3 separate regions of the Homo sapiens genome follow, and regions 2 and 3 are each linked to region 1. The links are contacts of gene promoters, found by promoter capture Hi-C in blood cells and fetal thymus (Javierre and others, 2016). All regions are on one chromosome and are shown on one strand. Each heading gives the region's core, a stretch centred on a gene start or on the middle of the fragment in contact. The rest is flanking DNA. Distances are from core to core; before and after follow the strand shown.

Region 1 (3,490 bases), core at 505-3,004:
GTAAGGAGTGCTCTGGTCCTGAGTCACAGTACAGACCCACAGCCCACAGGCAGCCTGAACTATGACCCCGTCCCCTCCTCCCCGGCATGCCACAGTGTAACCAAGTGTACACACATACACCTGCTGCGTGCTTACTGCATACCACCACAGCCTTCCTCTGGAATCTAAAGCAAGACACCATTTTTCACATTTTCCTGTAATGTAATGCTTGAACTATTTCAGTAAGGAGAGGCTAGGATGGGCTGAATTAAGTCTCAAGTAAACAAGAGTATATAAACTTGCCAATATATTACAACTAGGGGTTGGTTTTAGATTGACAAACTTTTAGGATGAGAACTACTTTTTTTTTTTTTTTTACAAAAACAGGGTCTCACTCTGTCACCCAGGCTGGAGGGCAGTGGTGCGATCTCGGCTCACTGCAGCCTCGACGTCCCAGAATCGAGGGATTCTCCTGCCTCAGCCTCCCAAGTAGTTGGGAATACAGGCAAGTGCCACCATGCCTGGGTAATTCTTATTTTTTTTTTTTTAAAGACGGGGGTGGGGTGGGGGTCGTCTCACTATACTGCCCAGGCTGGTCTCAAAACTCCTGAGCTCAGGCAATCCGCCCGCCTCAGCCTCCCAAAGTGCTGGGATTACAGGCGTGAGCCACCGTGCCCAGCCGAGAACTACTTTTTCTAGGGACTAGGTCACTGTATCATAAGCTTTAAAATCTGTGTCGTGATTTTGGGTTCCTGATGTCACGTCTAGGTGATTCTAAAATTGACCACCGCTTGTCATCGTGCCTTGAATGTTATCATTTTTGTCTCTCACTTAGAACTTTGTTACTTTGATACAAATTCACATTGGAACCACTTAGTTCCTAGAGTCCCTTACAACAAAATCCTCTGCATCAAAAAATGGGATTTCTTTCTCTCATCCCTCTGAAACACTAAAGGCTTGGTATTCTGAAGCCAAAGGGTACATACAAGCTCACAGGCCTTCACCCAACATCCAGGAAAGCAATTCACAGGTGCTGGGCAGTCCACAGAGTCACTGAATTATCCCAACAACCCTGCTGGGCGGCACTAAAGCTCCATTTTACAGGAGAAGAAACTGGGGTGGCGGCGGTGGTTATATAACTTGTCCAAAGCCACACAGGCCTGGGCGTGGAGGCGCGGGGCTGTTATACACACGACTCCCAAACCTGAACTCTTCCAGTCTTGGCCCCGATCCTGCGAGACCTGCTCCTTCCGGAAGAAAGTCAAGTGGAGCAGGGAGAAAATGTAATCCTCTCCCAGGAAGCAGCCCGGGTCCCAGGGCGGCGAGGCTCTAGGGACGTTTCCGCCGCCCGCAGGCTGCGCGTGATTCAGCCTCAACCCTCCCGCCGAGCCCCCGCCGCCCCGGCAGATGGGCCGCCGCAACTGGCCCGTGTGCGCTTCCGGAAGCGGGCGACTCGCAGCTCCACGCGACGCCGAGGGGCTCCGCGCCGGGACCGGGCGGGTGCTCGGAGTTTCGGGGACCGCACGGGACCGAGGGCAGGCGGGCGGCCACCCCCCTTACCCCCGCGTCCGGGGCGGGGCGGGCGGCGCGGGGCGGGGCCGGGTGACGCGGCCCCGCCGGGGACCGGGAGAAGCGGGGACGCGGGGCCACTCACGCTGCCGGCTCCGGAGGCGGCACGCGGCCAGCGCTGCTCCGCTCCGGGGCTCTTTACCCCGGAGTCGGGGCCGGGCGCGCGGGAAACGGTTACCGAGCGGACCTGGACGCCCTCTGCCTTCGTCATTTCCTGCCGGCCGGTCGGTTTCCGGATGAAACGAGGAGCCAGGTCTTTTTTTTTTTTTTTTCCTTTCCCCTTTTCAGTTTTTTGAGCCGGAGAGACGCAGCGGCGGCCCCAGTGCCGCCCCCGGGCGCGTGAGTGGAGCCGGGCTCCTTTCCCCTACCGCGCCGCGACCCCCGCCCGGGCTGCGCGCGCCGCCTCCCGCGAGCCCCCGGCCCGACTCCCGGGCTCCCGCGGGTGGGGGCCAGGGCTGGTCGGCGCCGGCGGGGCTCGCGGCGGCGGCGGGTTGCGTCCCCCGCGCCTGCTGGCCCACGTGGACCTGGCCGTCGCTTGCCGTGCGGCGCCTTTGCGAAAACTCGACGGAAGTGGCAGGGACCGGGCATTACCTGCGAGTGCCGGGCGCCTCCTGCTCCGCTGTGCGCGCTTGGGGTGGGACTCGGCGGGGGAGGGGTCGTGTACATTGTCCCACCAGGCGCAATGTAGCCGGGCGGCGCAGAGGATTTCTTTTTTGGTCTTGAGAGCATAGAGTCCCTTTTCATATTCACGTGTACTCTTAAGAAAGCGTCTGTTCTCCAAACTGGCTTTCCATTCTCCCCGTCCTAAATGGTGCGTGGCTGACACCGTAGTGTTTTCAAAACTGGATATGGCCAGGATGCTATAGCATTGTCAGTGTAAGTCCCTTTTGGGTATTTTTATTTAATTGTGTAGTGACTTGACAGAAGTGTTTCCCAGCTTGACCTAAGTAATGAATTTGCATAGGATTTCAGCATCAGTATGGAAGTGATCAGATGTCAGTGGCTGGTGCCACCTTGCAGATAAATGGCCACTGGTCCACGTAGTTCGTCTTTACTATACATTTTGATTAAGTTCTCTAGGACCAGCTGACTGGTAATTATAAGTCACATGAAACCCTGCAGAGATGAGAGCTTACATTGAACACTTCTTAACAAGTTTTCTATTCTTTGTTTCATCTGTTACAATTAAACTCACCTTCGTCTAGGGTAAGACCATTACTTTACGCAATAACATACTAGCTTAATTTACGGTATTTATATGTATTTATATATATTGTATATACATAATCATACATATAATTCTATAACATTTAGTTTGACTCTAAAGTTGGAAAATCAGGAAAATAACAGGTGATGTTGAGTACTGATTGTTTGCCGGGCCTGTGCCAAATGGTGTGCATGCTTTATGTAACTTAATCTAAAAAAATTTGAATACGTGAGTTTGATTTCAGTGTGTCCAAATGTGAAACGTGTACATTATTGTTATTGTTTTGTTTTTTTTGAGACGGGGTTTTGCTCTCGTTCAGGCTGGAGTGCAATGGCACTGTCTTGGCTCACTGCAACCTCCGCCTCCCGGGTTCAAGCGATTCTCCTTCCTTAGCCTCCCAGGTAGCTGGGATTACAGGCGCCCGCCACCACGCCCAGCTAAGTTTTGTATTTTTAGTAGAGACGGAGTTTCACCATGTTGGCTAGGCTGGTCTCGAACTCCAGACCTCAGGTGTTCCGCCCGCCTCGGCCTCCCAAAGTGCTGGGATTACAGGCGTGAGCCACCGCGCCGGGCAAACGTGTGCATTAAATGCTTGTTTATGCCTTTGTAAAATAAGAGTGTTGGCAATATAAAATGTTACCCATAGAGTAAATTAATGTGTTTTTCAAGTTGGAAGATGGCTTTAAAAATTCATAGAAGTACAATTAGTCCCTTTATTTAGGTGCTGAATAGTTT
Region 2 (3,244 bases), core at 259-2,758, 69 kb after region 1:
TTTCATGCATTGATTTAGTGTGCCTGTCATATTAATAAAATACTCTTTCAGTGGAATGTTGTCTTTTGCCCTTAGAGTGGTCTTTTCATTTGTCTCACTTGGGATCTGAATCTCCAAAATTGCAAAGGCTGAAAAATCTTAGAAATGATAACAACTATCAATGTATATTTTCTGTTTCATTGTGTGCCTATAGCATTGCACATCGATGATGCTCAATATGTTTGTAGATTTGTTTATTATATATTATTTTCATTTAAAAAGCATGTAACCACAGTATACAGTTTGGGGAGGAAAGGAAAAAATTGTCTCTAACCTTCCTATTCAACCTCTATTATAATTTTAGTATATACCCCTGGGTATTTTTATGCATTATTATTTTTATTTTTTATTTTTGAGATGGAGTCTCGCTGTGTCGCCCAGGCTGGAGTGCAGTGGCATGATCTTGGCTCACTGCAACCTCTGCCTCCCAGGTTCAAGCGATTCTCCTGCCTCAGCCTCCCAAGTGGCTGGGATTACAAGCATCTGCCACCAGGCCCAGCAAATTTTTGTAGTTTTAGTAGAGATGGGGTTTCACCATGTTGGCCAGGCTAGTCTCGAACTCCTGACCTCAAGTGATTCACCCACCTCGGCCTCCCAGAGTTCTGAGATTATAGGCGTGAGCCACTACACCCGGCCTTTTATATGCATTTTCAACATTGCCATAATCACAGTGTACATAAAATTGTGTGTCCTGATTTTTCCCTTTAAATAACCTTATTGATGGGTCAAATTATTATATTGTATATGGTGTGGTATTTATTCAGTTCAACTCAATAAGCATTTATATGCTTGATACCATTCAAAGAAAATATACAGTGCCTTGGCTCTCCAATAATAGAATACCATAATTACGAAGCTTGCAGTGACATTTTTATTTCATGGATGTATCTCATGGCATCTCCTCTCCCTCCCAGAAGCAGGAACAGTGGCATGGGGGAGGGGCTGCTCCTTCTGGGGTCAGGGAAGTCCTCTCTTAACGGTGATATTTGAGCAGGGACCTGAATGCAGGGAGGAGGGAGCTGTGCAGCTGTGGGGGAAGATTCTTCCTGCAGAGGGATCCTCAGGTACAAAAGCCCTGAGGTGAGAGTGTGCCTGGTCTTTCTAAGGGATTGCAAGGGGACAGTGACACCAGGGCATTGTGAGGGAGGGGAGAGGAGCTAAGGCCAGTGAGCTGCGAGGAGGCCTGAAGGGTCTTCCTGACCCTGGCGGGGCCTCTAGCTTTTCCTCCTAGTGAGATGGGATAGTGGCGTAGTGATAGGATTGCCTCATTCTCCAGGCTTCTCTTTTCCTCTCTGGGGCCTGTCAGTTCCTGCCTTGGTCACCCTCCAGATGAGTGACCTCTCGCCAGGCCTGTAAACTCTCCCAGACACATGCATGATAATATACTGTGCTCATTGCTTATGCGTAAATGTGGAGGTGGGTCGTTGGCCACACCCAGTGGTATCACAGACTCAGATTTGGTTATTGCTGTTCCAGGAAACTGGACACATTCCACATATTTGAAAAGCCATGCAACTAAATTTCTCATTTCTTAATCTTTTGCTCATTTGAGGCACTTGTTCCTCTCTGAAAATAATGACCAAATATGTTTTTCCGATTGCATGAAAAATGTAACCTAGTAAGGATTACTATTAGTCTGTAATTATTAAGCATGCTTCAACTCCTGACAATTCTAGAAAGCAGGTTTTTTTGTGTTTTTGGTTGGGGGTGGTTATCCTAATTATAATCTTCCTTGAATTGCTTTATGGTTAGGTCCGTCACATGCCAAAGTTAGATCCCATTAGCAGGCTTAAAACATTTATTTCTGAAAGAACAAACTGTTACAGGTTGCTGAGTATAATTGATTTCTTTTGTTTCCTTTCTGCTACAGGAGGAGACATCACAGCTTTCCCAGATCGGGAGGAAAAATATGGAATGTGTTTTACCGCTGACTGAACACAACCAAATGAACTGTCCTGACAGTAGTTTGCAAACCAGCAGCTAGCAGTTTGTCCAGCCTCTAACATTGTCCAGCACTTTCCAGAGCAAACTCACTGTTTACAAGAACTCTTGGCCTTACGAAGTTTATAACCTCAAGCTTTGTTTATTTAAAATATTCCTGCAAAAGAAAAGTACCCGGCACCCACTTTCCAAAATGGCCATGGATGAGTATTTGTGGATGGTCATTTTGGGTTTCATCATAGCTTTCATCTTGGCCTTTTCTGTTGGTGCAAACGATGTTGCCAACTCCTTTGGTACAGCCGTGGGCTCTGGTGTGGTGACCTTGAGGCAGGCATGCATTTTAGCTTCAATATTTGAAACCACCGGCTCCGTGTTACTAGGCGCCAAAGTAGGAGAAACCATTCGCAAAGGTATCATTGACGTGAACCTGTACAACGAGACGGTGGAGACTCTCATGGCTGGGGAAGTTAGTGCCATGGTTGGTGAGTAGCCTCTTCTCTATACCGATGGGACATCCGCCCACTGACCCGCTTCCCTGCAGTACTTTGCCCATATCCATAAATGTGATTTTTGCTTTGGCTTTTCAAAAACTGGTTGGATGTTTCACATTTACTCTCTTATTTTTGCTTTCTGCATATTAATTTATGATTTTTAAAGTGTTTAAATATCAGGCAACCATTTATTTTCTGAACTTTTGAGCAAACTTGGTTGCTAAAATAGATTTCAGCTAAGTGAATACTTTTCAGAAAGTACAGAAAAAGACCTTTGTAGAACAGCGCTTTATTATTTTAGAGTTGTTTGAAGGTTGTCTAAGTGAATGTGTTTTCAAGGTTGATGTATGAAATTTCCAGGAAGGTTGATTTAGATTTTTTTCTTAAGGTTTTTCATCAATTAGGAGGCAATGTTTTGAAAACTTGGATGTCAAAAATAATATTTATTAGTCTAACTTTTATATTCACAGTTTAAGTTCTAAAGAAGTTACCAAATAAATCTTAAGTGCGTGTGTTTCAAGAAATTCTGGTCTCTTACATTATTTGTCATCCTTTTGTTGGCTTTTGTTTTGATTTTCTGATTCTACCTCTGGGAGCTCCATTTGGTATGTTTGTTTTGTTTTCCGGCCAAAAAATAATGTGCGTGTTGCCTGGTGATAGCATGACCTTTTATTGCAGTTTCAAGTTGTCTACATGAAGTGTGGAGGTGTGTGAACTGTGTGAATAAGCAGAGTGGCTGGTTGGACAGAGTGATGTCCCCATGGCCTAAGCGG
Region 3 (3,172 bases), core at 618-3,117, 110 kb before region 1:
AGAGCTGAGGCCTAATAGCCTTGGAACCCCTTACTCAAGGTTTCTTGGGTTTGCGTTTTTCCCCAGGTGATGGTCACTCATATTGGCTCAGAATAAACCTCTTTAAAATATTTTACAGTTTGTTTTGTCCTTTAACAGAGCTAAATTGTGTCCCCTCCCAATTTATATGTTAAAATTCTTTTTTTTTTTTTTTTGAGACGGAGTCTTGCTCTGCTACCCAGGCTGTAGTGCAGTGGCACAATCTCGGCTCACTGCAATCCACCTCCCGGTTTCAAGCGATTCTCCTGCCTCAGCCTCCCGAGTAGCTGGGACTACAGGGGCCCACCACCATGCCTGACTAATTTTTTGTATTTTTAGTAGAGATGGGGTTTCACCATATTGGCCAGACTGGTCTTGAACTCCTGAGCTCAGGTAATCCGTCGGCCTCCCAGACTGCTAGGATTACAGGCGTGAGCCACTGCGCCCAGCCCCAATTTATATATTAAAATTATAATCCCCAGTACCTCAGAATGTGACTGTATTTGGAGACAAGGCCTTTAAAAAGGTAATTCAGATAAAAGGAGGTCATTAGGGTAAGCCTAATCCAATATGACTGGTGTCCTTACAAAAATGAGGTGGGGACACAGAAACGCAGGGATGGCCCCGTGAGGATGCAGGGAGGAGACAGCCTACAAGCTGAGGAGAGAATCCTCCGAGAACCAACCCCTCTGTCACCTGATCAGGGACTTCCACCCTCAGCACTGTGAGGAAGTTTCCGTTGTTTAAGCCCCTGCCTGCGGTACTTTGTTATGGCAGCTCAAGCAAACCAGGACAGATGCAGTGGCATCCCAGAAGAAAATGAAGTCTTGGGAAAGGAACCTGGAGGTGAATCGGTGTCTCTTTTGAACTTCCTGGTGCAAAGATGGGGTGGCACGCTCCGCCACTGCTCAGCTCGGTGCCAAGCTCCACTCCAGAGAAGCCGGGGGGCAGAGGGAGGGGACAGAGATGCTCACTGCTGCGGTCCATCTACCTTGAGGAGGAAGCCCTGCTTCCTTCTTGCAGCATGTAATTGGGGCTGAGTCACAGTGCCAGTGCCACCCTGCTCAGCCCAAAAAGCAGAGCAGATGGCAGCAGAGAAGAGCAGCAGGAGAGGTTCATTGGCCCCTCTCTGCCTCCAGGAAGGCGCCACACAGAGCAGACTGTCAGGGCGCCCTCATTTGCAGGGCCAGAGCCAGGGCATGGAGAGGGGGCACTCATCTCGGGTATGAAAGCTTAGGGGGCTCCAACAGCTCAGCAGTCAGGATAAATCATCCTTTAATGCAATATTGTTTAAAATCTACATTTATGTAAACAAATCTATGATGAACAAAATGTTTCTGATATTTCCTTTTGCCTCAGGATCCAATGTGGTTAGCACAGAGCTTTTACGGATCCTGTCATTATTTAAAATTGTATTTTTTATCATTTTTTTGCATTAATTTTTATTTTTAAAATTACTGCATTGGCTGGGCGCAGTGGCTCACACCTGCAATCCTAGCACTTTGGGAGGCAGGCAGATCGCCCAAGGTCAGGAGTTTGAGAGCAGCCTGGCCAACATGGTGAAACCCCATCTCTACTAAAAATACAAAAATTAGCTGGGCGTGGTGGCAGGTGCCTGTAATCTCAGCTACTTGGGAGGCTGAAGCAGGATAATTGCTTGAACCTGGGAGGTGGAGGTTGCAGTGAGCCAAGATCATGCCACTGTACTCCAGCTTGGGTGACAGAGCGAGATTCTGTCTCAAAAAAAAAAAAATACTGCATTAAAATATTTGTCTTCAGTTGCATTCACTATATGCATACACACACACACATCACACATTACAAATGAATACAGGTTTAAAAACTGGCCATCTACAGTCTAGTTAACAGTAATGTCCTGATGTCAATTTCCTGATTTTGATTTTGTACTATAAGATGTCATCATTGGGGGAAGTTGGGTATACCAATGTTGCAATTTCCTGTAAGTCTATAATTATTTCAAAATTAAAATTTTTGCAGGAGGGTGTCACACACCTGTAGTCCCAACTGATCAGGAGGCTGAGGCAGAAGGATCCCTTGAGCCCAAAAGGTCGAGGCTGCAGTGAACCAAGATTGCACCACTGCACTTCAGCTTGGGTGACCCAGTCTCTTTTTAAAAATTGAAAATATATTTATTTTATAAATTCCTGAATCTGGGGGCACCCAGGTCAATTTGAGCCCATAGTGGGCATCTTACTTTCCTCTGCTAGTCCTGGCCCTGCGTGTTATGCTCTCAAACAGTGGGGAACATCAGCCAAGACTCTCACCTCGCTCAGCAATGCACAGACACTTAGTTACCCTTGAGCCATCCATAAACCCATCTGGCTGCCCCAGACCTCCTGCTAATTCTGCCCCCAGGAACACGCCTTCCCTGCAAACCGGCCCTTCCCATTTCCGTAAACACCCTGTGTGCAATGTTCAAGCATGAGCAACAATGGGATAAGCTTTTCTTTTCTTCTTCTTTGTTCTTTGACAAGTTCAGTTCAGTTTCAGTGAAAACTACTCAGGGTGTAAACAAATAATGTCACATCTTAAATTTTAGTTATGAGTCAGGGCCTATGGTTTTGACAAGCACCCAGGTGATTCCAGTGTGGAAGCTGAAGAGCCACCCCTTGAGCCAGTTCTTGACTTTGTGCTCACGTTAGAATCTTCTAGGGCAGCATCACCTGGGAACTCATTAGAAATGCAGATTCTTGACTGCGCCCTGAACCTGCTGAATCAGAAACTCTGGGAGTGTGCCCAGCCATCCGTGCTTGCAAAGCCCTCCAGGCAATTCCGATGCTTGCTGAGGTCTGAGGACCACTGATGTAGAACTTTAAAAAAATGGGATGCTTGGATCCACGTCCAGAGATGCCAGTCTCATTGGCTGAGTTACAGTCCTGCTGTCCCACATAAAGTTTCTTGGGTCATTCTACCAATCTCTGGGGTGAGAGTCGCTGCTCCACTGTGTCTTGGTGACCAGCTGAGTCTCTCTTCCTGGTTCTCCAGCATGACTCCTAACTAGTGCTTATGTTTCTTGCAGAGAAACCAAAGATCTGCCCTTAACAACAGTCCAATGAGTTAAGAGGAAATAAAGTGCTTTCAAGAAAATGCCTTTTTAAGCACCCATGGCATCCAGGAGGCCCCTATGCTGTGT

Evidence for each region. The method cuts DNA at HindIII sites, captures the fragments that hold promoters and counts their contacts. A CHiCAGO score of 5 or more calls a contact.
Region 2: a contact is called between a fragment that was not itself captured here and the fragment with the promoter of SMIM19 in region 1, in 1 of 17 cell types (endothelial precursors). The highest score is 6.9, in endothelial precursors.
Region 3: a fragment that was not itself captured here is called in contact with the fragment with the promoter of SMIM19 in region 1 in 4 of 17 cell types (megakaryocytes, M2 macrophages, M1 macrophages and 1 more); the score reaches 7.1 in megakaryocytes.

What each region holds. Positions count from the first base shown.
Region 1 is chr8:42,539,849-42,543,338 of GRCh38, reverse strand. It overlaps SMIM19 (small integral membrane protein 19), which reads right to left and starts at 1,754. Exons shown (of 4, transcript NM_001135674.2): 1 at 966-1,754. It also overlaps a transcript of SLC20A2 not described here. RefSeq lists an enhancer at 1-173 and silencers at 1,334-1,753, 1,894-2,173. The HindIII fragment of the contact is 8,293 bases long and covers 704-3,490 here.
Region 2 is chr8:42,471,320-42,474,563 of GRCh38, reverse strand. It overlaps SLC20A2 (solute carrier family 20 member 2), which reads left to right. Exons shown (of 11, transcript NM_001257180.2): 2 at 1,910-2,462. The coding sequence starts at 2,174. Among named protein-coding and RNA genes, the nearest start is that of SLC20A2, 28 kb to the left of the region's middle. RefSeq lists an enhancer at 1-127. The HindIII fragment of the contact is 1,221 bases long and covers 898-2,118 here.
Region 3 is chr8:42,654,423-42,657,594 of GRCh38, reverse strand. No RefSeq gene overlaps it. Among named protein-coding and RNA genes, the nearest start is that of CHRNB3, 41 kb to the left of the region's middle. The HindIII fragment of the contact is 1,230 bases long and covers 1,253-2,482 here.